Regions from separate parts of the Homo sapiens genome. Here region 1 is linked to region 2. Evidence: promoter capture Hi-C in human tissues and cell types (Jung and others, 2019). All regions are on one chromosome and are shown on one strand. Each heading gives the region's core, a stretch centred on a gene start or on the middle of the fragment in contact. The rest is flanking DNA. Distances are from core to core; before and after follow the strand shown. Region 1 holds the start of KRT7 (keratin 7). Region 2 holds the start of KRT5 (keratin 5).

The links. The method cuts DNA at HindIII sites, captures the fragments that hold promoters and counts their contacts. A contact is called where the count stands out against the background at its distance.
Region 1: the fragment with the promoter of KRT7 here is called in contact with the fragment with the promoter of KRT5 in region 2 in 1 of the 25 tissues and cell types used here (spleen).

What each region holds. Positions count from the first base shown.
Region 1 is chr12:52,231,054-52,234,607 of GRCh38, reverse strand. KRT7 (keratin 7) reads right to left here and starts at 1,365. Exons shown (of 9, transcript NM_005556.4): 1 at 988-1,365. The coding sequence starts at 1,311. It also overlaps the pseudogene TMT1AP1. RefSeq lists an enhancer at 1-779. The HindIII fragment of the contact is 11,918 bases long and covers 1-3,554 here.
Region 2 is chr12:52,519,144-52,522,896 of GRCh38, reverse strand. KRT5 (keratin 5) reads left to right here and starts at 2,503. Exons shown (of 9, transcript NM_000424.4): 1 at 2,503-3,155; 2 at 3,737-3,753. The coding sequence starts at 2,601. RefSeq lists enhancers at 1-596, 3,416-3,753. The HindIII fragment of the contact is 8,601 bases long and covers 1-3,753 here.

The DNA.
Region 1 (3,554 bases), core at 116-2,615, 290 kb after region 2:
GGCCCCAGGCCCTGGGGACCACAGAGAGTAAGACGGTGCAGCTCAACACATGGGGGAACCTGGGCCTGGAGCAGCTTGGGGAGGCCCCTATGAAATCTAAAAGACCGGTCTGGGTGAATGGCGAAGGAAAGGAGAACGTGAGGGAGGCGGGTGTGGGAGTACACTTCGTCTAAGCTGAGGAAGGGGGCCCTGGCCAGAACAGCCCAGCAGGGCCAGCCCTGAGTTCCTGGCTTTGGCAGCACTCCTCCCAAACCCACCAGTCAAGTCTGCCCTCGCCCCCTCCAGCGGCCCCATGTGTGGCGGAGGCCAACAGCCAGGAAAAATATCTCCAAAATGGACCCCTTTTTGAGGGCCCTCTCTGCCACTCCCTGCCCCCAACTGGGCTGTCTTCAAGGGCAGGTATAACCTCTCCTCCTGCCACCTAAGGGAGGCTGGAGGACCAGGCAGGTGGGGGAGGGGAGGGGCGGGAGCCCCCCCCCCTCCCCCGCCCCACCGACTGCCGCTCTAATCTCCAGCATCTGCATCCGCATCAGCATCTGAGAGAGCCTGGGTCTCCCCCTCTGGGAAGGGCGTGCCATCCAACTCCATTCCTGACTCCACACGGTCCTCTCTCAGGGAAAGGGTCCCAGAGAGAGAACTCCTGGCCTAGGCCTCTGGAACTCCTAGTCCGAGGCAAAACTGGTCCAGGTGACCAACAGGCAGCCAGCGAGGGCAGCCCTACAGGACTCAGGCCCGCACTCCGGGAGGAAAGGGAGGGGCAGCTGGGCAGCTTGCTGGAAGGGAGGGCTTGGAAACCGAGGGGATAAAATAGCCACGGGGTTCATGCGAAGGAGGAAGGACCCCCAGATCGTGTCCCCAACACTGGCGGAAAGACAGAAGGGCGGCAGTGCTCCCCAGCGCCTGGCCCGCGCGCAGGCAGGGCTAGTTAGGGCGGCTGGTGTGGTCTGGAGCGCGGCTCGAGGAGAGGCGAGGTCCAGTCCCGCTCACCTTGTCGATGAAGGAGGCAAACTTGTTGTTGAGGGTCTTGATCTGCTCGCTCTCCTCCTGGCGCACCCGCTGGAGGGAGGGGTCGGCGTCCAGCCGCAGCGGGGCCAGCAGGCTCTGGTTAATGGTGACCTCGCGGATGCCGGCGCCCACCGGGCCCCCATAGGCAGAGCGCACGGCCACGCGCGGCCGTGAGGCGCCGAGGCCGTAGAGGCTGCTGCTGCCAAGGCCGCCGGGGCGAGCGGAGCTCAGGCGCACCTGGGCGCCGCGGCCCGAGAAGGCGGCTGAGCGCGAGGTGAATACCGGGGAGCTGAAGTGGATGGACATGGTGGCTGGGCCGGGATGGACCTAGCGGCGGGCGAGGAGGAGCGCGCACTCGCTGACCTCGGGGACACTCCGCGCCTTTTATCCGCGGGAGCGGGCGGCTGGGCTTCCACAGGTAGGGGCGGGGCTGCCGCGGGCCACCTTTCTCTGCTGCCAGGCCCCTCCTGGGGCCGCCCTCCGCCCTCTGCCCGCCCGCCCCGCCGAAGCCCAGGCTTTCAGTCCAAGCAGGGATGGTCCGGAGTAGGCAGGAGCGCCATCCCTAGACGGCCGCAGAGAACAGCGGGGGACCGCAGTTCCAGCCCATTGGAAACGGACTCAGTGAGGGAAGGCTTCCCGGAGGAGGATGCTTGGAGAGGGAGTGAAGAACCTAGAGATCCCTGAGGCCCAAGCAGAGAGACCCAGTGGCAAGAGACTGGGGGAAGGGGTGGGCTGAAAAGTTCCAACCCAGGAGTCAACGCCCAGACGTCCCCATCCTCCAGGCTGCTGAAGCCAGAAAGGCATTCCTTACCGCTCTCCCTCACACCGATCCAGCTCCTCCTTGAGAGATCAGCTCACTTGTTCAGGGGTCTGACCCCTCCTGGCCCAGCTAGTTTCCCTGGCTGCGTTCCTTCCTACTTCATTTCCCATAGAAACTAGGCTGAGAGAGACACACGACCGACCGCACCTCTGGCTCCTCCCCTCCCCACTCCAGTAGGCATCGGAATCCCAGGGACCTTGGGAATGCTTACCCTGGACCCTCACCTCCCGGACCCTCCACTCATATTCCTGCCCATTTATTTTATGCGTCCCTGTACAGGAAGGGGACACTTGTGTGTATTTGTGACACTTTGTGGATGTGTGGACACTTTGTGGATGTGTGCACACGCCTGCAGGCCTCTGGGCTCTGCTGTGCTCACACCCCCAGGCATATGCACCCGCATGTCTGAGCCTGCTTACACAGATGGGGGTCTGTGCGTGCATCCTGGGCGAGGGGGCAGCTGTGGCTACACAATGGCACACATTTTCATGCCTGCCTGAGTGCGTGTGCTTCTGTTAGCACTCAACTCTCCTCCCGCTCCCTCCACCATTTTCCTGTTTAAAGGCCCTCAGCTTTCATCATCTTTCTCCCGTGAAGCCACCACCAAACAATTCCCAGCAGTTTCAAACCCAGTCAAGAGGGGTAATCCTAGTGCTGGAACCGAATACCGGACAAAGCCTGAGTGTTGGCCTCACTTCCCGGTAGGGCCAGCCATGCTTGCCACACCCTGTTCTCAGGCCTGGCTTCCGTCTGCCCTTAGCCCACCTCTAGCCCCTCCCAATAAGCTGGCCAGGTTCGTTACCTCAGACCTAAGCCCTTGGGGGAGACAAGGGTGGGGACGGAATGTCCTTCCTGCTTGGCCATTTCAGTTAAAGCACAAGGACTTCCAGTGAGGCTAAAGACTGTCACTCCTTCTCAGTGATCTTAGTGAAGGCTCACCAGCCTCCCTCCCTGCCTCCCCTCCTGACCCTAGCCATTGGTGTTGGGTCAGCTCAGGCCAGAGGCGGAGGGGTGCCCAAGGAGACCTGCTGTGGTATCGGCTGTGGAGCATGTATGTGTGCATAAGACCGAGAGAGATTCGACCTGGAATTGTGCCTGGTTGTAGCTTGAAGAGCATACGGATTACCTGGTCCTGTGATATTTGCATTCATAGGAATCTCACTGCCCTCCTTCCCCAACGCCCAAGCAGGCAAAAAAGACCAATTGTTTAATTTACACACACACACACTCCAACTTCCTCACCCCTCAGGGCTCATCTTCAACTCTGTTTTTACCACTGCCTCTCACACCAACGCCTGCTCTCCCATACCTCCACTAACAAGTTCTGCCTCTGGCCCTCTCATCCGTCCCCATCTCCAGCCCCCTACAGGATCTGCGCTCTGGAGGCTGTGCCCACCTAGACCAGGAGTTCCTGCATCCACTTCTCCCCTAAAGCCTGGCTGGGAAATCTTTGTCAGGGCACTGCTGTTGCCTTGAGGCCCTGGACATGTCACTGCCCCTCCCTGGGCCATGGATTTTTCACCCAAGATGAAATCTCCAGATTCCATACCTAGAGAGGACTGGGGAGGACAATGGGAAGGAGAAAAGGTCTCTGGGCTTTTCAGGCTCACATCTGGGGTTGTGGGTGGGGGCCACTTTGAGCAACATTTCTGCATTCCAGGGCCTGCCTGACATTCACCCCTTGGCCTCTCCTCCCCTCTCTGAAGCATTCCAGGCCGTTCCAGCCCTG
Region 2 (3,753 bases), core at 1,254-3,753:
GGTGCCCAGCAGGAAAGCTCCCTGGTGAGCCTAACACAATCCCTCCCTTCCTGCCACAGTGAAATTCCAGGCTGGGGTGGGACTCTCCCGAGCTGCAGTGGTGCTGGTGCCTGGCTCCCCACCAGGAGCGGCTCCATTATTTATACCTGTCCAGGTCTGGCATTGAGGGAGGGGCTGCCCTGCCTGCTCATGGGAGGATTCCCACGAAGCTCGGATAGAAGAGTGCTGCTGCTTCTCCCATGGAGCACCCACATGCTCCCTGCTCCCATGGAGCACCACACACTCACCGTTGGTCCCTGGCACATGGATCTGAGCTTGGCACACTCTAGCAATCCTCAGACTAGCCAGAACGCATTCCTGCTCTGCCAAGTCCTCTTTCTTCACAACACAGCTGGGAGGAGAATGAATGGGGAGAAGAGAATGTCCCAGTGTCTCAGGAGGGGTGGGGCTTCCCTGAGGGCAGTGAGGTCTGTACCCGGGACCTGTGAGTGTATGTGGTGGTGGGGATATACCCCGATATCGATCTTTGAGTGGAGCAGGAGCATCCCACTACGAGTCCTCAGACACTTGCTTCAGGCTTGGATCTGTTCTGTTCTATCAGGAGCCGAGGGTCCCCTGGTATGTCTCAGGCCTCCAGGACACTCACATCTGTTCTCCAGAAAGCAACCAAATGTGAAAATGGTGAGCTCAGCACAATTCATCTCTGAGGGTCTCAGAAATGCTCCAGCCAGGGAGGCCACCCAAACCATTTTGCTCAAGACCTGTAAGACCGGCTCCGGCCATTGGTCTGTCTGCCGAGATTGACCTGTCAGCTGCTTGCTCATCGCAGCCCTCTGGTGAGAAGTCACTGTTTCAGCTGATCCTCAGCACCAGGGAGTCATTTTCCCACTGCCTTGGCTTCCTTGTGGCCAACCGCAGGCCCTGGTGAGAGATTCCTGAGCCTGGGTCTGGTCCTGTTCTTCTACTCTTGAGAATATAGCCCCTCCTCCCTGAGGCTTTGAAGCCATCCCCATTGCATTCCTACCTCCAGCCTCGGGCCACAGGGCGCCCCCGAAACTCTGAACAGCCCAAGCACTGTCCTGCCTGAGAGCCCTGCTTCTATTTGGGGGACGGCAGAGAGGTGGCCCCACTCAGATCTGCTGCCAAAAAGAGTGGGTGTGGTTTAGAACAGACGTGTGTTAAAACCTCATCAGAAACCCCCTTTCCTCCACCTGGTGCCACAACCCCCCAGACAAGTTTTGCAGAGGGGATCTCAAAGGGCCCTCCCTAAAGCAGCTGGCAGATTGTCATGCCAGCTGCCTGGGCCCACAGGCCTGCTCTGGCTAGCCTTTCTGGCAGGACAATCCATAGACTTAGAATCCCGTTTTCCATTGCCTTGGCCCTGAAGGAGGCTGTGGGCTACAGCATAGAGAAAGCAGAGCAAGTCCCGCTGCTTGGAACAGGGTGGTTCGCCGTTATAACAGGCCGTCAGACTCTCAACATGTTCCTGATGAGATTAGAAGCTCCTGCAGGTATGTGTTTGTGGCGGCCTTCAGCCTGTATCAACACATACGATGACTCATTTCTTCCCTAGTGGAATAGAGCTTGCTGGAACACACCTGGGGGGCTGGGGAACCGGCAGAGTAGCTACCCCCAAAGAGAGACGCTATAGCCCATGAGTCTCAGGGTTTTTTTTTAAGGGATTGCATGGGATCCCCGGGTTTCCTAAACCCCCCACAGAGTCCTGCCCAGGCCAAAGAGCAAGGAAAAGGTCAAAGGGCAGAAAAAATGCTGAGTTAGGAGGAGCTATGGAAGGATAAACCTGGCCTTAAAGAGGTCAAAGTGGTTTATAGGGGGCGCTGAGGGCTTCCCACATTCTCTGGCCTAAACCTTGCAGGCAGATCTGCCCAGTGGGCTCTGGGATAGCTGTGCCTTCCCTAAGAAAAAAATTGTGCAGAAAAGGATGAAACTCTATTTTCCCTCTAGCACATAACCAAGAATATAAGGCTACAGATTGCCTTTCCCAGAGGGGAAAACCCTGCAGCAACCTGCTGCCTGGAAAAGTGTAAGAGCAGATCACTGGGGAATCGTTTGCCCCCCGCTGATGGACAGCTTCCCCAAGCTGGAAGGGCAGGTGCTCAGCATGTACCGTACTGGGATGGTTGTCAATACTCCTGGTCCTGTAAGAGTCCCCAGGACACTGGCCATGCCAATGCCCCCTCAGTTCCTGGCATCCTTTTTGGGCTGCTCACAGCCCCCAGCCTCTATGGTGAAGACATACTTGCTAGCAGCGTCACCAACTTGCTGCCAAGAGATCAGTGCTGCAAGGCAAGGTTATTTCTAACTGAGCAGAGCCTGCCAGGAAGAAAGCGTTTGCACCCCACACCACTGTGCAGGTGTGACCGGTGAGCTCACAGCTGCCCCCCAGGCATGCCCAGCCCACTTAATCATTCACAGCTCGACAGCTCTCTCGCCCAGCCCAGTTCTGGAAGGGATAAAAAGGGGGCATCACCGTTCCTGGGTAACAGAGCCACCTTCTGCGTCCTGCTGAGCTCTGTTCTCTCCAGCACCTCCCAACCCACTAGTGCCTGGTTCTCTTGCTCCACCAGGAACAAGCCACCATGTCTCGCCAGTCAAGTGTGTCCTTCCGGAGCGGGGGCAGTCGTAGCTTCAGCACCGCCTCTGCCATCACCCCGTCTGTCTCCCGCACCAGCTTCACCTCCGTGTCCCGGTCCGGGGGTGGCGGTGGTGGTGGCTTCGGCAGGGTCAGCCTTGCGGGTGCTTGTGGAGTGGGTGGCTATGGCAGCCGGAGCCTCTACAACCTGGGGGGCTCCAAGAGGATATCCATCAGCACTAGTGGTGGCAGCTTCAGGAACCGGTTTGGTGCTGGTGCTGGAGGCGGCTATGGCTTTGGAGGTGGTGCCGGTAGTGGATTTGGTTTCGGCGGTGGAGCTGGTGGTGGCTTTGGGCTCGGTGGCGGAGCTGGCTTTGGAGGTGGCTTCGGTGGCCCTGGCTTTCCTGTCTGCCCTCCTGGAGGTATCCAAGAGGTCACTGTCAACCAGAGTCTCCTGACTCCCCTCAACCTGCAAATCGACCCCAGCATCCAGAGGGTGAGGACCGAGGAGCGCGAGCAGATCAAGACCCTCAACAATAAGTTTGCCTCCTTCATCGACAAGGTGAGCTACGATCTTTTGTAAAAAATCACTGTGGGTCTGAAATAAATGCCAAAGAGAGAGAAAGAAGGAAGATGTTTTGGCTTTGTGCAAATACTTTTATAGTTGTACAGTTCTGTGTTTCCGTTTGTTTCTGTGCCCTGGATTTGTGGACACGTTCTGAATTAGACTGGCAGCTGGGAAGGGAGAATTATTTCTTCCCATTCAGAGGTTAGCTCACAAGGGCCTCTTAACAACTGTTGGACAGAGAGATGAATTTCATGCCATATATAAAGGGGCTGACTGTACAGGAAGGTAGACAAGTGCATGGGCAGCAGCCTGAGTGCCTTTGCAGCCACCCCTGAGCCGGGACACACTCCAAGCAGCACTCCTAGTGCTTTCTGTGCCCTGGATAGGTGTCCTATCTCCCCCTGGAAAAGTGAGTTTGGGTGCCTCAGTCTGCACCTCCCCTCCTGGGGCCCAGGGCCAGGCACAGTGCACAGAAAAGCTTTAGAGGGACGGAAAGAGGTGGGAGGCACCTTAGTGAGTTGATCATAGAACATGAAATCCAAGTTTCTCTATCTTCAAACCCTGCTCCCCTCCAGGTGCGGTTCCTGGAGCA